Regions from separate parts of the Homo sapiens genome. Here region 1 is linked to region 2. The links are contacts of gene promoters, found by promoter capture Hi-C in human tissues and cell types (Jung and others, 2019). All regions are on one chromosome and are shown on one strand. Each heading gives the region's core, a stretch centred on a gene start or on the middle of the fragment in contact. The rest is flanking DNA. Distances are from core to core; before and after follow the strand shown. Region 1 overlaps WDTC1 (WD and tetratricopeptide repeats 1). Region 2 holds the start of GPR3 (G protein-coupled receptor 3).

Evidence for each region. The method cuts DNA at HindIII sites, captures the fragments that hold promoters and counts their contacts. A contact is called where the count stands out against the background at its distance.
Region 1: a fragment that was not itself captured here is called in contact with the fragment with the promoter of GPR3 in region 2 in 1 of the 25 tissues and cell types used here (spleen).

Annotation. Positions count from the first base shown.
Region 1 is chr1:27,246,103-27,251,486 of GRCh38, reverse strand. The region is part of intron 1 of WDTC1 (WD and tetratricopeptide repeats 1); the gene reads right to left. Among named protein-coding and RNA genes, the nearest start is that of WDTC1, 14 kb to the right of the region's middle. The HindIII fragment of the contact is 4,416 bases long and covers 1-4,274 here.
Region 2 is chr1:27,390,926-27,396,093 of GRCh38, reverse strand. It overlaps GPR3 (G protein-coupled receptor 3), which reads right to left and starts at 3,472. Exons shown (of 2, transcript NM_005281.4): 1 at 3,357-3,472; 2 at 280-2,300. The coding sequence starts at 2,295. The coding sequence ends at 1,303. RefSeq lists enhancers at 1,084-1,881, 2,710-3,245, 3,783-4,319, 4,320-4,856 and a silencer at 3,269-3,768. The HindIII fragment of the contact is 10,052 bases long and covers 1-5,168 here.

The DNA of each region.
Region 1 (5,384 bases), core at 817-3,316, 140 kb after region 2:
CAATGAATTAAGGAGAAAGAAAGCAGCTGATTTCTGGGAGCTGAGATTATGAAAAATATAAAAATACTTAAGGCACAGAAGAAGACACAAGACACAATGTTACAAAGAAAATATGAGTTGCTATGCAGATGTTACACCTCCCAAAAGGTATTCTATTCCTGGAGCTCTAAAATGCCTAGCATATCACCATGTAACCCCATCATTTCTATAAACTTTTAACTTAGAATACTGGAAAACTTTCTTCTATAAGCCTATCTCTATGATTTTAAAGGATACTAACAAGAAAATAGAAGTCTGGCTAGGTGTGGTCGCTCACACCTGTAATCCCAGCATTTTGGGAGGCCAAGGTGGGCAGATCACCTGTGGTCAGGAGTTTGAGACCAGCCTGGCCAATATGGTGAAACCCTGTCTCTACTAAAAAAAAAAAAAAAAAAAAAAAAAAAAAAAAAAAAATTAGCCAGGAGTAGTGGTGCACGCCAGTAATCCCAGCTACTCAGGAGGCTGAGGCAGGAGAATCGCTTGAACCTGGGAGGCAGAGGTTGCATTGAGCCAAGATCACACCACTGCACTCCAGCCTGGGTGACAGAGTGAGACTCTGTCTCAAAAAAGAAAAAAAAAAAAAACAAGTCAATTAACAGCTCGATTTGGAGGAATTAGTCTAATCATAATGCCAAGGTGATCAGTAATATAATAGCCTGAGGTTAACATGACTTAGAACAAAGTACATTTGTGAAGATCACTCATCTAGAACCAAGAATTGAATGGTAATATCCAAATATGAAGAACCACTCCTTTCATGTGTGCTATAGTCCTTGTTTGGCTCTGGATAACGCAGCAGAAAGAGAAAAACATATAATACTTAGGCACCTGGGCCTGAATTCCAGCTTCCCCCTCAGTGTACCAATTAGTACCTACATAGGGAAGTTACTTAAATTTTCTGAGTTTCAATTTCCTCATTTGTAAAATGGGGATGCTAACACCTACTTTAATGGGTTGTTGTGAATACATGATAAAATATATATGAAAATACATAACAGGGCTGGGTGTGGTGGCTCACGCCTGTAATCCCAGCACTTTGGGATGCTGAGGTGGGTGGATCACCTGAGGTCAGGAATTTGAGACCAGCCTGGTCAACATGGCAAAACCCCGTTTCTACTAAAAATACAAAGTTACTTGGGAGGCTGAGGCAGGAGAATCGCTTGAACCTGGGAGGCGGAGGTTGCAGTGAGCCGAGATTGCACCACTGCACTCCAGCCTAGAGGATACAGAGAGACTCTTATCTCCAAAAAAGAAAAAAAGAAAGTACATAACAGTATCGTATCTAGATTGTAGTAGGTGCTCAACAAATGTTAGCTAAATTTGAATTCTACTAAAACCTGGTAACCCCTGTTATATTTGCTCAGTAGCATGGATTATAACATTTCCCCCGCCCCAATTTCCCTACCAGAGATGAAGCTGACAAGGGGTATTTCATTGTAGGATGGCAGGGGCAGAGTATAGGATGTCTTTATCACCTGTTAGGTTTGAAACGCAAGATCAGAAGGAAAATCGTGACGTTGTTAAAAGTGAAGAAATGCCACACAAAAATCTGTGCAAGAATGTATTTATAGCAAGGCCAGGTGCACTGGCTCACACCTGTAATCCCAGCGCTTTGGGAGGCCGAGGGAGAATCACTTGAGGCCAAGAATTTAAGACCAGGCTGGGCAACACAGCAAAATCCCGTCTCTACAAAAAATAAAATTAGCCAGGTGTGGTGGCCATGCATCTACAGCCCTAGCTACTCAGGAGGCTGAGGCAGAAAGATTGCTTGAACCCAGGAGTTTGAAGTTACAGTGAGCTATGATCATGCCACTCCAGCCTTAGTGAGAGTGAGATTCAGTCTCAAAAAGAAAAAAAAAAGTTTAGAGCAGCATTATTCATAATAGCCAAAAGGTGGAAACATCCATCAACTGATAAATAGATAAACAAAATGTGGTATATCCATACAATGGAATGTTATTTGGCCATAAGAAGGAATGAAGTACTGATACATGCTACAACATAGGGGAACTCTAAAAATATTATGCCAAGTGAAAGAAGCCTACATATTGCATAATTCCATTTATATAAAATAGAACAAAATAGAATAGAAATAGGAAGTAGATTAATGGTTGCTTAGGGCTGAAGGGAATGGGGGGATAGAGAAGTGACAGCTAAAGGATATGGCTTTTTTTTTTTTTTGAGACAGTCTCACTCTGTTGCCCAGGCTGGAGTGCAGTGGTGCCATCTTGGCTCACTACAGCCTCTGCCTCTCAGGTTCAAGTGATTCTCATGCCTCAGCCTCCGGAGTAGCTGGGATTACAGGCATGCACCATTATGCTCGGCTAATTTTTCGTATTTTTAGTAGAGATGGGGTTTCACCATGTTGGCTAAGCTTGTCTTGAGCTACTGGCCTCAAGTGATCTGTCTGCCTCAGCCTCCCAAAGTGCTGGAATTACAGGTGTGAGCCACTGAGCTGGGCCGGGATATGGTTTCTTTTTAAAAAATTTAAGGCTGGGTGCAGTGGCTCACGTCTATAATCCCAGCACTTTGGGAGACCAATGTGGGAAGATTGCTTGAGCCCAGGAGTTTGGGACCAGCTGGGAAACATGGTGAAACCCTGTCTCTAAAAAAAGTTAAAAAATTAGCTGGGCGTGGTGGCACACCTACAGTCCCAGCTACTTGGGAGGCTGAGGTGGGAGGACTGCTTGAGCCCAGGAGGTTTCGGCTACAGTGAGCCAAGATCACACCACTGCACTCCAGCCTGGGAGACAGGGCAAGACTCTGAATAAAAAAAAATAATAATAAAAAGTTTTTAAGTGAAATTCACATAAGATGAAACTAATCATTTTAAAGTGTATCATTAACAGACAACCTATAGGATGGGAGAAAATACTTGCAAACTATGCATCTGACAAAGGTCTAATATCCAGCATCTATAAGGAACTTAAACAAATGTGTAAGAAAAAAACAATCCCATCAAGTGGGCAAAGGACATGAACAGACACTTTTCAAAAGAAGACATACATGTGGCCAACAAGCATATGAAAAAAAGCTCAGTATCACTGATCAATAGAGAAATCCAAGTCAAAACCACAATGAGATACCATCTCACACTAGTCAGGATAGCTATTATTAAAAAGTCAAAAAATAACAGATGCTGGTGAGGTTGCAGAGAAAAGGCAACACTTTTACACTGTTAGTGGGAGTGTAAATTAGTTCAACCATTGTGGAAAGCAGTGTGAAGATTCCTCAAAGAGCTAAAAACAGAACTACCATTTGCCCTAGCAATCCTATTACTGGGTATATACCCAAAGGAATATAAATAGTTTCACCATAAAGACACACACACTGTGCAGTATGTTAATTGTGGCACTATTCACAATAAGCAAGACATGGAATCAACCTAAATGCTCATCAACAGCAGATGGGATAAAGAAGATGTGGTACAGGCTGGGCACAGTGGCTCACGCCTGTAATCCCAGCACTTTGGGAGGCCGAGGCGGGCAGATCACCTGAGGTCAGCAGTTCAAGACCAGCCTGGCCAACGTGGAGAAACCCCGTCTCTACTAACACTATAAAATTAGGCAGGCATGGTGTCAGGTGCCTATAATCCCAGCTACTTGGGAGGCTGAGGCAGGAGAATCACTTGAACCCGGGAGGCAGAGGTTGTAGTGAGCTGAGACTACGCCATTGCACTCCAGGCTGGGCAACAAGAGTGAAACTCCATCTCACAAAGAAAAAAAAAAAAAAAAAGAAAGAAAATGTGGTACATGTACACCATGGAATGACCATGCAGCCATAAGAATGAGATCATATCCTTTGCAGGAACATGAATGGAGCCGGAGGCCATTATCCTCAGCAAACTAAAGCAGAAACAGAAAACCAAATATGGCATGTTCTAACTTGTAAGTGGAAGCTAAATGATGAGACTTCATGGACACAAAGAAGGGAACAACAGACACTGGAACCTACTTGAGGGTGGAGGGTGGGAAGAGGAAGAGGATCAGAAAAAATAACTATTGAGTACTAGGCTTAGTACCTGGGTAACAAAATAATCTGCACAACAAACCACCATGACATGAGTTTACCTGTATAAAAAACCTGCACAAGGCTGGGCACAGTGGCTCACATCTCTAATCCCAGCATTTTGGGAGGCTGAGGCAGGTGGATCACTTAAGGTCAGAAGTTCAAGACCAGCCTAGCCAACGTGGTAAAACCTCGTCTCTACTAAAAATACAAAAATTAGCCAGGCGTGGTGGCAGGCACCTGTAATCCCAGCTACTCGAGAGGCTGAGGCAGGAGAATCGCTTAAACCCAGGAGGCAGAGGTTGCAGTGAGCTGAGATCATGCCACTCTGCTCCAGCCTGGGCAACAGAGGGAGACTCTGTCTCAAAAAAAAGTTTAATTAATTAAATAAATAATAATGCAGAAATAGGCTGGGTGCGGTGGCTCACGTCTGTAATCCCAGCACTTTGGGAGTCCGAGGTAGGAGGATTACTTAGGCCCAGGAGTTTGAGGCTGCAGTGAGCTATGTTTGTGGCACTGGACTCCAGGCTGGGTGACAGAGTGAGACCCTGTTTCGAAAAAAAAAAAAAAAAAAAAATGGCTGGGCGTGGTGGCTCACGCCTGTAATCCCAGCACTTTGGGAGGCCGAGGTGGGCAGATCACCTGAGGTCAGGAGTTCAAGACCAGCCTGGCCAACATGGTGAAACCCCATCTCTACTAAAAATACAAAAATTAGCCGGGCGTGGTGGCGGGCACCTGTAATCCCAGCTACTCAGGAGGCTGAGGCAGAAGAATCGCTTAAACCTGGAAGGCGGAGGTTGCAGTAAGCCCAGATCGTGCCATTGCACTCCAGCCTGAGTGACAAAGCAAGACTCAGTCTAAAAAAAAAAAAGGAAAGAAAACACATGTCCATACAAAAAGCTGTACATGAATACTCAGAGCAGCATTATTCATAATAGCCCAAATTAGAAACAACCCAAATGGCCATCAATTGATGAATAAATATAATGTGTTAATATCCACTGTAATGGAATATTATGCAGCCATAAAAAGGAATGAGGTACTAATTCATACAACAACATGGAAGAAACTTCAAAACATTCTGCTAAGTGAAGGAAGCCAGTCACAAAAGACTACATGTCGTATGGTTCTATTTATGTGAAATGTCAAGAATAGGAAAACCTACAGAGACAGAAAGAGATGGGAGTGTTGGGGAGGAATGTGATAGCTCAAGGGTATGTGTTTCTTTTTTAGGTGATGAAAATGTTTTGGAATTAGATAGTGGTGACAAGTTGCACAACTTTGTGACTATATTAAAACCAATGAATTGTATAATTTAAGAGACTGTCTATTTTATG
Region 2 (5,168 bases), core at 2,223-4,722:
GGCCGGTGTGGGCAGGATGTGAGCATCCTTGACCCAGGAAGAGCCAAGCACCCAGGTTCCTGTCACCAGGAGGAGGTAAGGTCCTTGCCAGTCAGTGCCCAGGTCTGAGCAGAGGGGCACTGACATCTGAGAAGGAGTCACCTGCCAGCCACCCTCCACCCTCTGTCCAGCTCCCCAGATCCCCCAACAGGCCCCCCAGGCCTGGCTTGACCCTCTCATTCCAGGCCATCCCCCATCAGGCCCCACTCCATACCCTCCACACACACATAGGGAAACATATTTATGACAAAATCATTTTTTATTGAGTTGGGTTGGAGACGGGAACAGGGAATGCACTGGGGGCCATACCCCGGTTGGCAGAGGGGTGGGGTGTTGGCTCGTGCCCCCCCTCCTTTAGGGCACCGCAGGGTGAGGCTTGGCCCCCAGGCCATGGCTGTGGCCCTGGACGCCAGGCTGGAGTGGAGCTGGGGTTGCATTCTGGTCCCAGCTGCCTGGCCGGGCTGCAGTTTTCCCCAAATGGCCACCAGAGGGCAGTCGGACCCCAGCGCAGAGGAATTTTTGGTTGCTCAGGTGATGGCTTCTTAAAAAAATAAAAAACCAGAGGCTGGTGTGTTCCCCTTCCAAACCCGAGGAGGGCAGGCCTGGGGAGAAGGCTCTGGTTTCTATGATCTCTTCGATAAAAAATAATCCAAAATAATAACAAAATACGTGGTTTCTCTTTCACCCTTTCCCCCCTCCAGGAACTGAGGTCAGAAATGGGGGTGAAGGGACAAGGGATACCCTGGTATGGCCTGGATATCAAGGTGTGGGCCTCTTTTTTGCCCCTTACCACCCATAAGTAAATTTATAAATAAATAAATCAATCATAAATAGACACTGTCTTTGTATATGTGCATATATAATCTTTCTCTCTCCTATTTAGGCAACTATGTGACTAATCTCTCTGACTCTTTAGCTCAGAAATTCAAACATAAAGTGACATGGTCAAGGTCAAGTTTGGGGGAAGAGGGACATCTGGGACTTGGAATGGCACTGTAAAACTCCCAGCATTCTGGAATTGCAACCCAGCTGGGCTGTGAGACATTTCTGAGTAGAACACTGACCACCTGAACATTCTGGAACCGTGGAGCCAGCTGGGCCCCCATAGGGATCTGAACAGAACCTTGAAACACCCAATGTCCTAGAACTCCAGAACCAGCTGGGTCTGGGGGGTGTGGAGCTGGGGGTTTGGAAAGAAGCCCTGGAGAGCCTAACATTCTGGAATTCTGTAGTAATCAGGGTTGAAGGGTCATGAAGACTCAGCTAGACATCACTGGGGGAGCGGGATCGGAAGGGGATCTTGGAAGAGGAACAGCAGCAGCAGACAGCCCACAGCACTTTCTGCACATCCTGGTTGCGGAAGGCGTAGATGATAGGGTTGATCATGGAGTTGTAGGTGGCAGGGAGCAAGGTAAGATAGGTGTAGAGAGGTGGAGAGTGGGCATCACCCAGCAGGCAGTAGACAGTGAAGGGCAACCAGCAGGCGGCAAAGGCTCCAAGCACCACGGCCAGTGTGGCAATGCCCTTGCGGGTGGCCACATAGTGGGAGGCAGGCAGCAGGTGCCGCTGAAGGGCAATCTGCTGGGCATGGCGGCAGACGATGCGGCAGATTTGGGCGTAGAGCTGCAGCATGATGCCAAACACCATGAAGAAGGCAATGGCCAGAACTACCAGATGGTTCTTGGAGAGTGGATAAACCACGCCACATGTGGTCAGGCCATCCAGGCAGTTCCAGGCCAGCACAGGCAGCAGCCCCAGGCCCAGGGCACCTCCCCACACTAAGGCCAGCATCACATAGGTCCGTGTCACTGTTGTCTCTGAATAGTAGGTGAGGGCATTGTACAGAGAAAGGTAGCGGTCGACAGTGATGGCCAGTAGACTGCCGATGCTGGCGGTAAAGGCCATTGCCAGCACGCCAACCAGCACCAGGCTCATCTCCGCTGAGCCGATGCAGAAGACAGCAGCAAAGTGCAGGACCAGGCCCAGGCCTGCCAGCAGGTCTGCCACGGCCAGGCTGCCCACCAGCAGGAACATGGGGGCACGGAAGGCAGGAGTGCCCACGATGATGGCCACCACTAGCGCATTCTCGCAGGACACCAGGGTGCCTGAGATGCAGAGCACCACATCCCAGGCCTTAGGCGAGGGCAGTGGTGCGGCTGGACCTGTGGGCCCCTCTGCTGGGCCCACGCTGCTTACATTCACGTTGCCTGAGCCAGCTGAGAGCCAGGCCAGAGGGCTGCCTGCACCCCACATCATGGTACCTGCAGGAGAAAGGCCTTGTGAGAAGCTGACCAAGCTGGGTGATGGGAGTTGGGGTCTGGAGGGGGTGAGGTGCTTCTCAGGATACGTGGTGGGAGTCTCTCCTCAGGATACCTGATAGGGTCCCAATGCCTTATCCCCACATTCATGCCCTGGGGCTCTTCCCAGGATACCGCTGTCCCCTCCAATGCCCCCAGGCCTCTAAACAGGGGTCTCTTCCTGGGGATCCCTGTCCTAGGTCCTGCAGGTCTCTTTTTCCCACGTGTGTGACCAGAGGAGAGACAGAAGAAGGGGTACTATAAGTGGAAGAGGGCCATAGGATCCAGGGGATGCCCCCGAAGGCTCAAGATTGGGGTAGGGAAACATCTACCCCATCAGGGAGACTGAGCAGCTCCGCTCCCTCCCATCAGAGATGATGATGCTAGCTCGTGCCTGAGGCTCCCAGACCCCTCACGATTTTCAGTACTGCCAGCCTTAGACTCCGCCCCCAGGGAATGCGCGTGAAGCTCCCGCCAGCCATCACCCCGCACTCCCGCGGTAACACCTGGGAACTCAGCCCCCCACCCCCCACCCTCCCAGACTTCTGTTCCTGGCTGGACCCTTCTTTCCGCCTGAATCTCTAGGTCTCTGGGCAGACCCCCCTGCTGGAAGACTGGATCCCTGAGTCAGATGCCTCCTTCTGCCCGGACACCTGGATTTTGGGCCTGACTCTGCCTCCTGCCTGGATACCTGGATTCCTAAATTGGACACCTCCTGCTGTTCGGACCCCTGGGTCCCTGCCCCAGACGCCTCCTGCCGGCTTAACCTCAGATGACCATCAGTCCCTCCAGGGCCTCGGGTCCCTGCAGGAATGCTTACCCTTCGCCGGGTCATCCAACTCAACCCCAGCACTCGAGCACTTGGGCCCAAGCCTGCTAACCCAGAATCGCCTAAACCCAGAATTCCCACCTCGAACTCGAACCCCGGCCGGCCACTAGGAGCCTTCCGCCGGCCCAGTGCCCCAGCATCCTGCGTGCCCTTCAGGACCCCTGGTGCCCGCGGCGGGGCCCGCTACTCACCGCTCAGGACCAGGCGCGGCCGGGCCGCGGGGAGGCTCCGCTCGGGTCCTGGCGGCGCAGGGCGTGCGTGGACCCCGAGAAGCCCCCGCGGCCGCGGGAGAAGCGGCGTGAGTCACCCCGCCCCGCCCCCGGCCACCGGTTCGGTGACGTCAGCGGTCCGATCAGCCAATGGGCGCGGCGCGCTGGGGCGCAGCGCGCGTTGCGCGGCATAGTAATAAGGCCTCGCACCGCCCGCTCCCCCATTCATAAAAAGCGACCGTGGCTGCGGCCCCGCCCCCTCCCGAGTCCGCCCGCGCTGTCCTTGACGCGGCGCCCTCTGCGGGCCGGGGGTTTCAGAGGCGCCGGTGCGAGAGCCTTGAAGTCTCAGAGAGGCTGCAGGGAACGTGGTGGAAGAGTGGAAAGGGGGCCCGGCTAGGCTGTGGGGTGATGGGACCCTTGGGTGGCAGAGAGGCTGACGAGATCCAGGTGACGAAGGAAGAGCTTGTGATGGGGCTGGTTGGGCTTCCCTGGTGAGAATGACAGGGTTTCCAAGATGATGGGGCCCTGAGGTGACGATGACAGGGAGCACGAGGGAGCGGGGAGGTGGGTGGCAGTGACGACATTAGCATGGTGACAGAATCTTGGGGTGGGGGGTGATGGCCGTGGGACGCTAACGGTAGAGGGGAAGCCCTCAGGGCAACCATGGCAGTGTCAGGGTGACTATGCAGCAGGGGGGAGTTCAGGGACCCCGGGATGGCAGAGGCAGCGGCCTGGGAACATGGAGTGTCCAGGTGACTTCAGGTCACCATTACCCTGTCAGAATGGCTGGGGTACTGAAGCGACAATGCTAAGCCATGAGGACTGTGGGGCCCTGGAACGAAGATAGCAGGTGGCTGTGGTGAGTGGGCTCCAGGGTGAGGGGCACAGGGTAGAGGGTCTGGACTGACAGTGACCAGGCAGGTAAGTTGCTGCCAGGGCAAGTCCCGTGATGCCGGGGCTGGGATAAGAGCTGGGTGACGTCACTCATGTCAGCCCAATAGCGCCCTCACAGCACCGGAGGGGTGGGCCTGGCAAGATTTCAAAACCTGAATTATTTATTCCAGTATCTAGAAAGCCAGCGTGGAGGGGGTGAGGGGTGCACTTCCCTGAAGCAGGAGGAGATGGGGAGCCGGGAAGAACTTGGAAGCAGAAAGCCTGGCAGCTCAGTCCTCAGGGCAGGCCCCTCTCAGCCTCCTATTTTAGGCATCCTGATGGGTGGAGCAAGGAGAAAGAGCTCCCTCTTCCCCAACGCCATCTGCCCTTAGTCCAGGGGAACCACTCTGGGCAGACTTCTCCAGATGTGACAGATGTGGCCAGTCCTGCGGCAGGGGGACTGGCTGCTCCTTCTCCCTGTGTCTCTTGCCTTGATGCTCCCTGGAATCATGCAGGCCTGTGGGAGGGGAAGATGAGGTTAAGAGGCCTGAGGATCCCAGGCCCCACTGGACACCCCCATCACAGCACCATCACTGCAGCCCCCATGGTCAGCCTCCACCAGGCAGGTTTTGGGTTTGAGTGTGAGGCAGCAGAAGGTCAAGTGGCAGGGAACATGGGAGGAGGAGGGGGTCGGAGCTGGAGAAGAGGATTCATTTCAGGTTGGATGTGGTGAGTTTAGGGGGCTTAGGGGGTGGAAGTGTCCAATCTCAGTTTCTCCATTTCCTAGCTGGGTGACTTTGGAGAGTTTCTTCAGCTCTCTGTGCCTATTTCCTCATCTAAAACACAGGGATAATATTAGTACCGGCCTCATGGGGTTGTTGAGTGGGTTCTACTTGCCATTGGCCATCAATGTTACAGCTG